Linked DNA regions of Homo sapiens: regions 1, 2 and 4 are each linked to region 3. Evidence: promoter capture Hi-C in 16 types of primary human blood cells and fetal thymus (Javierre and others, 2016). All regions are on one chromosome and are shown on one strand. Each heading gives the region's core, a stretch centred on a gene start or on the middle of the fragment in contact. The rest is flanking DNA. Distances are from core to core; before and after follow the strand shown. Region 1 has its middle 130 kb from the start of LINC02889. Region 2 has its middle 170 kb from the start of HDAC9. Region 3 holds the start of PRPS1L1 (phosphoribosyl pyrophosphate synthetase 1 like 1). Region 4 has its middle 150 kb from the start of HDAC9.

The links. Contacts are between HindIII fragments. The CHiCAGO score rates a contact against its expected background, and 5 or more counts as called.
Region 1: a fragment that was not itself captured here is called in contact with the fragment with the promoter of PRPS1L1 in region 3 in 1 of 17 cell types (M2 macrophages); the score reaches 5.0 in M2 macrophages.
Region 2: a fragment that was not itself captured here is called in contact with the fragment with the promoter of PRPS1L1 in region 3 in 1 of 17 cell types (neutrophils); the score reaches 7.1 in neutrophils.
Region 4: a contact is called between a fragment that was not itself captured here and the fragment with the promoter of PRPS1L1 in region 3, in 1 of 17 cell types (neutrophils). The highest score is 6.9, in neutrophils.

Annotation. Positions count from the first base shown.
Region 1 is chr7:17,690,532-17,693,468 of GRCh38, reverse strand. No RefSeq gene overlaps it. Among named protein-coding and RNA genes, the nearest start is that of LINC02889, 130 kb to the right of the region's middle. The HindIII fragment of the contact is 3,289 bases long and covers 1-2,937 here.
Region 2 is chr7:18,327,747-18,330,446 of GRCh38, reverse strand. It overlaps a transcript of HDAC9 not described here. Among named protein-coding and RNA genes, the nearest start is that of HDAC9, 170 kb to the left of the region's middle. The HindIII fragment of the contact is 3,573 bases long and covers 1-2,700 here.
Region 3 is chr7:18,026,477-18,029,176 of GRCh38, reverse strand. It overlaps PRPS1L1 (phosphoribosyl pyrophosphate synthetase 1 like 1), which reads left to right and starts at 1,331. Exons shown (of 1, transcript NM_175886.3): 1 at 1,331-2,407. The coding sequence starts at 1,395. The coding sequence ends at 2,351. The HindIII fragment of the contact is 3,750 bases long and covers 1-1,726 here.
Region 4 is chr7:18,346,856-18,349,790 of GRCh38, reverse strand. It overlaps a transcript of HDAC9 not described here. Among named protein-coding and RNA genes, the nearest start is that of HDAC9, 150 kb to the left of the region's middle. The HindIII fragment of the contact is 5,296 bases long and covers 1-2,935 here.

The DNA of each region.
Region 1 (2,937 bases), core at 220-2,719, 340 kb after region 3:
GTTATTTAGCCATCAAAGGCATAAAGTACTGACACGTGCTACAATGGGGGTGAACGTTGAAAACAAAAGTGAAAACAGCCAGATATAAAAGGCCACATTTTGTATGATTCCACTCACATGAAATGTCCAGACAAGGTAAATCCATAGACAAAATATAGATTATTGGTTGCCACAGCTGGGAAAAGGAGGGAATTGAGGTGATTACTAATGGTTAAAGGGTTTCTCTCAGGTAATGAAGAGGTTCTCGAGTTAGTGGATATGGCTGCACAAGTGAATATACTAAAAAAAAAATCGCTGAATTGTACACCTTAAAAGAGTAAACTTTTATGGCAAATGAACTATATTTCAGTAGTGATAACACCAAAACAGCAGCAACAGCTACAACAACAAACTTGAAAAGAGAATATGGGAAGAGTTAGGCTAAAGGTTTCAATGACCTCCTGGGCTGGAAGACTTTTGCACCCCAACTTTGCAGAAGGAGATCAGTTTGAAAGATTGCTCACGTCTTCATGATGAAGCATTGTGAGATCCAAGCCGACTTTGGTGGAGGATTTGTTCTTGAGAGGGAGCAGAGAGGAAACAGCGGAGGTTACTCAGCAACAGGTACCTTCAAATCCCACTTGTATTTGGGACCAGAAAGATCCTTGCTTTTGCTTCAAGGCTTTGCTCAGTCCATCCAAAAATTCCCCACCTTTAAAAGACTGGGCAATTGAAAGTGACCACCTCTGAATTAGAAACAAATGAAATGAGCAGAATAAGGTTCATGGAGCTATAGATGCCAGAGAGCATAGAAGTAGTCTGCAAAGGAAAGTCCTAGATGTCAGCGGGGCCTAGTGTAATCTGCTTGATATCTTCTCCCTACTCTGAGGCATGAGAGGGATGAGACCTATCTCCAGGTTGTCACCTTATAACTTACATTGTGGGAGGCCATTCTTCTGCTGCACTGTTGCTCTTGTGGTCAGTTGTGTTGATGCTATGAGTTCTGCTTCTGGTTTTTCCAAGAACACCACTCCTTTGATCTTAGCCTTCACCCTCTGTAGCTTTGGGGCCTAGTGGAAAGAGATGGCTTTAGAAATCAGAAATACTGATTGTAAAACAACCTCTGCTTATCCGTGATACCTACACTGGAGTCTACCAACCACAGTGTTGCAAATGCATTGTGGTGGTGCTTCAAACTGTGGATCTCTCTAACCCTTGGGGTCATTCAGAAACTGGGTGGCTGAGACTCCCAGGAACAGCACCTTTGGCTGTTAGCTGGCTTGCTCAGGGTGCCTCAGAGGGCAAACCTAGCAGGGTGAGGCCTGCACAATACCAGTTGGTGAGCACTGTTAGCTACATCAGCACTCATGGCTCCCCGTCAACACTGTGCACTGCCAACAGGAGCTCTGACACCAGGATGTCTCCAGCAGCCAGGGACAGGCAGAACCATGCCCATATTGTGGAAATGTGGCCGATGGTTTGTAGGGGGCAGGGAAGGGACATGTTCCCAGTGTCCAGATATGCCCAGAGTTTGGCCAAGGTGTGGACAGTTAGGAGTTGGATGTGGTGCTGGGGGAGGGATTCTGGCTGGGGACTCCTGAGGGCACTGACCCACATGGCAGTCTCCCATTTTTCTCTTCGTATGTATATATATAATAATTCTGTCCCAATTTGGTTGATGCGCTATTTTTATAAGATTCCAATTCATAGGACGATGATTCTTTCTTTTGAGATGGAGTCTCGCTCTTTCACCCGGGCTGGAGTGCAGTGGCACCATCTCGGCCCACTGCAATCTCTGCCTCCCAGGTTCAAACAGTTTTCATACCTCAGCCTCCTGAGTAGCTGGGATTAACAGGCATGTGCCTCCATGCCTGGCTAATTTTTGTATTTTTAGTAGAGATGGGGTTTCACCATGTTGTCCAGGTTGGTCTTGAACTCCTTGGCCCCCAAAGTGCTGGGACTACAGGCGTGATCCACTGCACCCCACCCATAGAAGGATGGTTCTTCTAACAACACCTGCAGCTTTTGCAGATTAGAACTTCATTGTTATCTGGAAATATTTGATATAAAAATTCTATTAAAGCCAAAGTCCATTTGCCTTATTTTGATCAAATTAATATTACTCTTGTCCATGAAAGAAAGGAAGAATTGTACCAAAACATACTGTTCCCAAATGACCAGTTTTGACGTGTGCCCTACTGTCGAAAGGGATGTGAGGAAAGAGAAAGTTCCAGACTTTCTGAGCCTCAATTTTCTCACCTGCAAAATAAACATAATAATTCATAACTAATTTAGGCTAGTGCTCAAGGGTGAATCTATTCTCCTTTCCATGCCCTAAAATATTTAGGTTTTTTGATTAAGACATAAAAAAATTCAGAATTTCATAAAACAGGAATCTGGTAGGAGTTTTTTCAACTAAGTCCTTTTTATTTTATACTTAAGGTAACATGAATTAAGAGCAGGCATTGCTCATAGTGGTTTCTCAGCCTTCTGCTGGTGAAGTTTTCACCTCTTCGTTTTACATGTTGAAACAGTGTAAATCTGTCAACCCTACAATCTTGGGAGGCAGACATGGAGATATCCGCAGGCCAGCTCCAGGTATAGGGTCTGTTTCCTGCTTCCCCCCAGGGTAAGGTGTCCACCTTCTTCCTTTGTACTCAGGTTAATCTACAGTGATGGTATCTTGTTATAAATGCTTCACTTTCTCATTTGGTCCTCCTCTGAGCCATGTGCTTGGTAAAACTATCACAACACAGGACAAAACAAAGACTGAAGCAATCACATACTTTCTACTCCTCCTTTGATTTATTTTATATAAATTATCTCTTGGGACTGGAATGGTCCAAGCCTTGGGATTCTGTGTATTCAGGTCATGTCAAGTTCACTCGTTCCCCATACAAAGGGAGAATTGTCAAATGGCAGAAAGCTAAGAAGCCTTGACCTACAAGGACATACACA
Region 2 (2,700 bases), core at 180-2,679, 300 kb before region 3:
AATATTAAAAATATCTGTTCTATTTACAGACAAGGTATCTTGTATGTCCATTAATTTTAATAGTGGAATAGCAGTTTTAGGAGAAAAATATAATCCATTTAGTGAAAACTAAATGTGAACTAACAAGTTTCAGATTTCCGGCAAATATCTAAGTGTCTGAAATACCACCCCAAGTGTCCCCACACCACACATCTACTCACTATTATCACAGAGCTTCACTAAAGTGTGAAGAATTACAGATGCCCTGGGTTTCATTTAGTTTTGAACCTATGTCTCTGAAAAGAATCTTCACAATCTAAATCTTCATTTGGCAAGCAGAAAAGATTGATAAGTATAACTAGAACATCTGCAAAATAATATAATCAGAAAATTTTTATTTTCCCAAAGCATCAAGGTATGAGAGGTGGGTATCATACCTTCCCATTATTCTCACACACGGAACACACACACACACACACACACATACACACAAGCCTTAGAATGCAGCAATAAAATAGACCCAAAGTACCTTAGAAGTAAAATATACACTATTCCCAAAGCAAAACTAGTAAGAATGTTGTGGCTAGCTAAACGGTAGTTAAACATTTCTTCAGTACTTCTGGGGGCCAGGCACTAAGCTAGAGAGCTGGGTTAGTAAGCCTACATAAAATGCATAAAAGGCAGCAAGGAGAGTGTAATGTGAAATGGAGGAAAGAAACAGAAGGCTTCAAAAGACATAATCTGGATCCAAGTGCCATCAACAGGAATTATACTCTGGCCCATGTTCTTGAGCAATCTGATCCCCTGACAGGCACATCACTTTTGTGAATCAGAGAGCACAGAATATCAGAGACCAGTATCATCAAACATTGAATTATACAGTTCATTCCATTCACTGTTTTTTTTTTTTTTGGAGAGATGACATTTCTTTTGTTTACTAATCGACAATTATTCCATTCACTCTTAAGCCGACACTTACCAAAGTGGCCTTCTAAGTATAATTTTTACATATTTATTTTAACTGACAAATAATAATTGTATATTTATGGAGTACAATATGTTATTTTGATTTATGTTATACATTGTAGAAAGATGCATCAAGTTAATTAACATACCTATCAACTCACCAACTTACCATATTTTGTGGTGAGAACGTTAAAAATCTATTCTCCAATAATTTTGAAATATAAAATACATACATTAAAACTGATTCCTCCACTCTAAAATTTTGTACCCTTTGATAAAAATGAACAAAACTTTAGCTACACTAACAAAGAAAAAAAGAAGACCCAAACAAAATCAGAAATGAAAAAGGAGATGTTACAACTGATACCACAAAAATACAAAGGATCAGAAGAGACTATTATAAACTATTATATACCAACAAGTAGGATAACCTAGAAGAAACAAATGAACTACAAACATGGAACCTACCAAGACTGAACCAGGAAGAAAAAGAAAATCTGAACAGATCAATAATGAGTAAGGAGACTGATTCAGTAATAAAATATTTCCTATCAAAGAAAAGTCCAGGACCTAATGACTTCACTGACAAATTCTACCAAACATTTAAAGAAGACCTAATACCAATCCTTCTCAAACTATATTAAAAAATTGAAGAGGAGGAAATACTTCCAAACTAATTTTACAAGGCCATCATTACCATGATACCAGAGCCGGACAAGGACACTACAAGAATAATAAATAAATAAACTACAGGCCAATATTCCTGATGAACATAGATGCAAAAAGTCCTCAACAAAATACTAGCAAACTGAATTCAAAAGCACATTAAAAGGACACCTCACCATGATCAAGTGGGATTTATCCCAAACATGAAAGGATGGTTCAATATCTGCAATCAGTAAATGTGAACACCATATTCACAAAATGAGGATAAAAATTACATGATCTTCTAATTATAATTTGATTTTCCCTATAAAGTGACTTTCAGTTAGTTAGCACAGAGTGGGTTTACGTGTGTATTCTAAATTACTTAGTGCAAAGAATTCTTATTGTAAACCAATAAATTTGCATTTTGGTTATACACTAATATCTGGTGAGTTTGGTTAATGCAAGCCTGTCCCTGCATAAGAGCACTACTCCCAATATCCTAACCCCGTAAGTGTCTGGATCTCCATGGCTAAGATCTACACCCTAGAAACTGTGAGTCCAGCCCCAACACATAACGGGCACTCTTCAATAAACGAGTAAAGGCAATTCCACGTTGCAAAAAGCCCTGGAAGGCAGCTGACATCTCCTGTGATCACCCTTAGATTACTGTGTAGTTTCCTCTCCAATTTCAATAGGAACTAAAGTTCAAAGAGAAAAATACTCATGGGTTAAGTTTCTATAATTTCATTTTATTGTAATGAACTCCAAAAAAAGCTAAAAGCAAAAAGGTTTCTCAGCCATACTTCATTTCCACTCTGATGTTTTCCAGTCATAATTACTGCTTAAATATTCTTTTATACCATGCTAGATTTTTCCAATTGGTATGGCAGCCTATTGCTGAAAGCCACCTTAGAACACTTCTAACTCAACATCCTCTTTTACAAAGGAGCAAATTGATGTTATGATTTCATCTAATACTATAACAATAAAAAAGGAAATAAGTACCAAATGAATATTAAAATAACCAAAAAATTGTTATGTAATTAAAATCAGGAAGTTTGGTAAGTTAGATAGTAGGAAATAAAAAATTATTTCAGAGTAACTCAT
Region 3 (2,700 bases), core at 82-2,581:
ATGAAAAAAATGATGATTTGGTTTTAGGCTAAATAAAAACACCCTGGTATCCAAATGTCAGGCACACAATTAGCAAGATATAAATGGTTGATCTGTATCTGATGCCTCCATTATTTTTATGAAATCATTGGCATCTATGGTCCTTTCTGCCTCCTTCCTCACTATTTCCAGCCCCGATACGCCATAGAAGCTGTATACTTAAAATTTGCTAACAAACATTTAATTACCAAATACATTTTGTTCATCATTTTTACTACAAAAGTAATAAATGTTCAAATGCCACACTGATAGCAGTAAAATGTAACAGTCCTCCTTCATTCTCAACTCTCACAACCTACTCCCCTCTCCAAAGGTAATTATTATAAAGAGGACTTCCATGCTAATTGGATGCTTTCAGTATCACATAATCTTAAATACATAAATATAATACTATGATATTTTTGTGACTGACTTTACCTTTAAAAAAATACCTAGGAGACATTTCCACATGATTACACTTAATCTATTTAATGGTCGCATATGTATATACAATAAATTATTTGGTAATTTACCTATTGATGAACATTTGTTGGTTCCCATATTTTGCTTTTATAAACAATTCTAGGGCAATTACTATTTGTCATGCACAATTTTTATACCCTAGAAGTAGTATAATACCTGACATATAGGAGGTGTTCACAAAATATTTATTGCATGAATGAATACAGCTACACTACTATGTAGCCATATATATTTGGGGTGCTTGTGAAAATTTCTCTGAAATAGATTCCTAGAAGTATACATGATGAGTCAAAGTTTATGTGCAAAATTACCCATGCAAAATCTACATATTTATACATTCCATCCGAATAGAAGACCTTATCTTAACATTTTGGCTACTTGATGTGTGAAAATAGCGTTTTCTTGATTACTTCCATTGTTTCACGTTTCTTATCCATTTTTTTTTTACTGTGATTGCCTATTTATGCCATTTTTCAACTTTCTATTTTATTGTCTTTTTCTCACTTCATTGGGGAAATTCTTTCTAAAATAATCTTTTGCATATACTTTAGTAGGTAATTTTCCTTTTAAACTTGGGTTTTGCTTTGTAGTTTTATGTTTTTATGCATTCAAATTTGTTTAAATAGCCCTGTGAAACTAATATAGGTGCTAATAGAAAAAAACTCCATACACTGTAAATACTTGATTATTTAGTCTAAAAGTGTGAAGTGGGAGGTGGCAAGCAGAAATTTTTTCAAGAGACCCAGGGTCAATTTGGGACCGCGCGCCGCAAGGGGGAAGGGACCCTAACGGTTGAGTAACAACCGGAAGCCATTAGAGTCTGTGCTTCACTTCCGTTCCAGCCTCAGCGGCAGCTGGATCGCTCGACGGAGTGCCTCTGGTAGTTGGCCAAGACGCCGAATATCAAAATCTTCAGCGGCAGCTCCCACCAGGACTTATCCCAGAAAATTGCTGACCGCCTGGGCCTGGAGCTAGGCAAGGTGGTGACTAAGAAATTCAGCAACCAGGAGACCTGCGTGGAAATTGATGAGAGTGTGCGTGGAGAGGATGTCTACATCGTTCAGAGTGGTTGTGGCGAAATCAACGACAGTCTAATGGAGCTTTTGATCATGATTAATGCCTGCAAGATTGCTTCAGCTAGCCGAGTTACTGCAGTCATCCCATGCTTCCCTTATGCCCGACAGGATAAGAAGGATAAGAGCCGGTCCCCAATCTCTGCCAAGCTTGTTGCAAATATGCTCTCTATAGCAGGTGCGGATCATATCATCACCATGGACCTACATGCTTCTCAAATTCAGGGCTTTTTTGATATCCCAGTAGACAACTTGTATGCAGAGCCAACTGTCCTGAAGTGGATAAGGGAGAATATCCCTGAGTGGAAGAACTGCATTATTGTCTCGCCAGATGCTGGTGGAGCTAAAAGAGTGACCTCCATTGCAGACCAGTTGAATGTGGACTTTGCTTTGATTCATAAAGAACGGAAGAAGGCCAATGAAGTGGACTGCATAGTGCTAGTGGGAGATGTGAATGATCGTGTGGCTATCCTTGTAGATGACATGGCAGACACTTGTGTTACAATCTGCCTCGCAGCTGACAAACTTCTCTCAGCTGGAGCAACCAGAGTTTATGCTATCTTGACTCATGGAATCTTTTCTGGCCCAGCCATTTCTCGCATCAACACTGCATGCTTTGAAGCAGTGGTAGTCACCAATACCATACCTCAAGATGAGAAGATGAAGCATTGCTCCAAAATACGAGTAATTGACATCTCCATGATCCTTGCAGAAGCCATAAGGAGAACTCATAATGGGGAATCTGTTTCCTACCTGTTCAGCCATGTTCCTTTATAACAGAATAACTTCTAGGTTATGCTATTTTAAAATAAAATAAGATTAATAAAAACAAACCTTGCCTTTATTTTTTCTTAGGTTTGATTAAAAGTTCAGCAGAAGATCCAGCTTGCTCCAGTGTAACTTTCTACATCCCACATCAGGTATATAAGAGTTTACCTTAAATTAGGGAAAAACAGGTTAAGAATAATCACTAGGATTTCCTGACTGGGTTGTCTCATCTGGCTTCTTTGATGATTTTGTTAGCCCAGCAGCTTTAACTACAGCCCTTCTGCTGCAAAGATTTCAGACTTCTGAGGGTGTTTTGTAGAGGTGTTTGAAAGTGGTTGGAAAGCTTACATGTAAATGC
Region 4 (2,935 bases), core at 412-2,911, 320 kb before region 3:
TCTACATAGAAAGACATATTTTTTCTGCATAGTGCTATTCCTGTTGGCGTGAAAAGTAAAACACAACACCACATTTTTTTTTTTGTCAGGAACTTTGTTTAGAAAAGTATACTTAACAAAGACAATATTAGGGTAACCACCAAGATATCACATATGAAGTTCTAATGCTGTGAAAATTATAAAATTACTAACATAAAGAATATCAGATATGTCCCCCAATTCAATGTTTGAGAATCAAATATTTATTGCATCCCTGCTATGTGCTAGGCAGTGGGGATAAAGCAGATAACATTAAGCTACCATTCTCAGGCACTAACATTATACTGGGAGAAAGAAAAAATAAAGAAAACTATATTAGATGTTAAGATGTTAGCTGTTGATCACTGCTATAGAGAAAAAATAAGCCAGCAAGGAGGAAGGGCAATATCTGTGTGTGTGTGTGTGTGTGTGTGTGTGTGTGTGTGTGTGTGTGTGTGTGTGTGTAGATGTTCTCAAGTATGGGAGGTCATCTGGAAAGACATCTCTAATGAGGTCAGGGAGAGGTGCACAGCTTACCTAAGGCAAGACAGTTTCAAGCACAGGGACCAACAAATGCAAAAGCCTTAGAACATGAAAGACATACGGTGCAGTGCTTTGTAGGCCTTAGTAAGTAAAGAAGCTGAATTTTACTCTGAGTGACAGAAAACCATTAGGAAGCCAATGGGAGAAATTCATGTTCTCATATTGGGAAAATGACTGTATTAAAGTTATGGGAATAGCTTATAGTGGACAGAACTTGGGCTTGAAGACAGATATACAGGTATTAAAATAATTTCTGTTCTTCACAGCATCATACCTATAAGATGCTGTCTCAATTACTGAGTTCTGTGTTCTCAGACTCCATTTAAATAGTCATAATACCTAAACTGCACTACTACTGTGAAGATTAAATAATACAAGCAGCATCCAGGACTGTGCCTGGATTACAGTAAGTGCTTAACAAATAGTAGCTGTAATTTTAATAGTGTTGCAAGAAGTTGAAATATGTGAGTTTAAGTAGGAAATACACCAATTTTAAAAGGGCTAAAGAGAAGGCAGAAGGAGAAAGTTTGTGTTAGGAGATTTTGGATCCTAAAAGTTGTTAAAGGATTCTTTACCTCTAAATACATCTCCAAAAGATGCCAGTAAGAACCACAGCTCAGAACAACAGATGTGTGATTGCATAATGAAATCTTGGTGTATAGTAAAAATACCTAATAGAAATAATTAAATTATGACCCCTACAGTATAATAGATGCCTAAAAACAGTGGTATTTTTCAGAAAAATTAAGCATTTCTTGGGGCATATCTAATTGAACCTTCCCAAAAATCCATGAGTAAGGTATTATCCTCATTTTTTAAATGAGAAACTGAGATTCAGAAAGGGTAAAAGACAAGTTCAAAAATCACACATGTAGTAAGTGTGCTCAAATCTGGTCCATAGTATAAATGCTCAATAAGTGTTGATAGCTAAGCATTTCCTAAATGAACATACGAATCTATACTCCATATCTTACCTCTTAATCGCTGACATTGCCTCTATAATTAATTAAATCAGATAAATGTTTCCCAAATTCTCCTGATCATAAGAATTACCTGGGGTGCTTGTGCTTTTCATGTCCAACTGCAGGACCCAAAATATTTTGTGGAGCAGCCTAGAAACTGATATTTTAAACCAGCAATTCAAGAGATCCTAATGATGAGGGAATTTTGAGAAACAGTTGCTAGTTACTGCATGATCCGTCTTTCAACTCCAAAATTTGCTACCTACTTCTCTCTTAAAATTAAAAGCAAGAATCTATGACTGTCAACCCTTTATCTATTTCAAAACTCAATACTTATCATCTACTTTGTAAAAACAGAGGGCACTGAGATACAGATTAAAAACATACTGCCGGCCAGGTGCAGTGGCTCGTGCCTGTTATCCCAGCACTTGGGGAGGCCGAGGTGGGTGGATCATCTGAGGTCAGGAGTTTGAGAACCCCATCTCTACTAAAAATACAAAAAATTAGCCGGGCGTGGTGGCATACACCTTGTAGTCCAGCTACTCGGGAGCCTGAAGCAGGAGAATCACTTAAATCTGGGAGGCAGAGGTTACAGTGAGCCGAGATTGCATTCCAGCTTGGGCAACAGACTGAGACTCTGTCTAAAAAATAAAATAAAATAACGTAAGATAAAATAAAATAAATAAGAACATGTTGCAGTTTATCAACTTGGTCTAAGATCCCTTTGTTTAACTGAATAGGAATAAACACAATTTACATGGGAGTTGTTGTTTTTGTTAGTTTTGTTTTCCCATTAGTGGTAGAAATCTAAGCAAATGTCTAAGTAAGGATGTTCTAGTATTAAAACTTTCTGCATGGACTCATTATGAAAAACATCCTCCCCTAAGCCTCCCCAGGGAGTCATAATGGGGTTCCCATAGTATCTAGAAACCTTACTTCATGTTTTATTTCTTGGCTGCACAACTAAGAGTGTTGCTAATGAAGTGCTCATTTTCCTTCACTTTCTGCTAAGAGTGGGAAAATTTATAATATGCTTTAAAAATACACATAGCTACATATTCTAGCAATTGTTGAGTGGTGTGTACTTTGCAGTGCTGGTAACTAGGATTGGAAAATGTTACATTAATACGGTGAATTTTATTTTTCACCAAGTATTGTGTTCTAAAAAGAGTTACTGTGAAATATTCATTCAGTATGGTGCAGAAAACAAATATGAACAACTTTTAAAACCCCCATCCCATGGTACAATATAAAGAAATTGATGCATAGATGTCTTATTTCCTTTGTGCCGCCAGCCTCTCCTATGAATGCCACACCCATGAATTAGGAAAGACTGAACAGATCATTTTAGACCTAGAAAACAAAGTGGTGGATTGGCTATTCCACTTTCCTCAGATGAAGAAAAATGACCT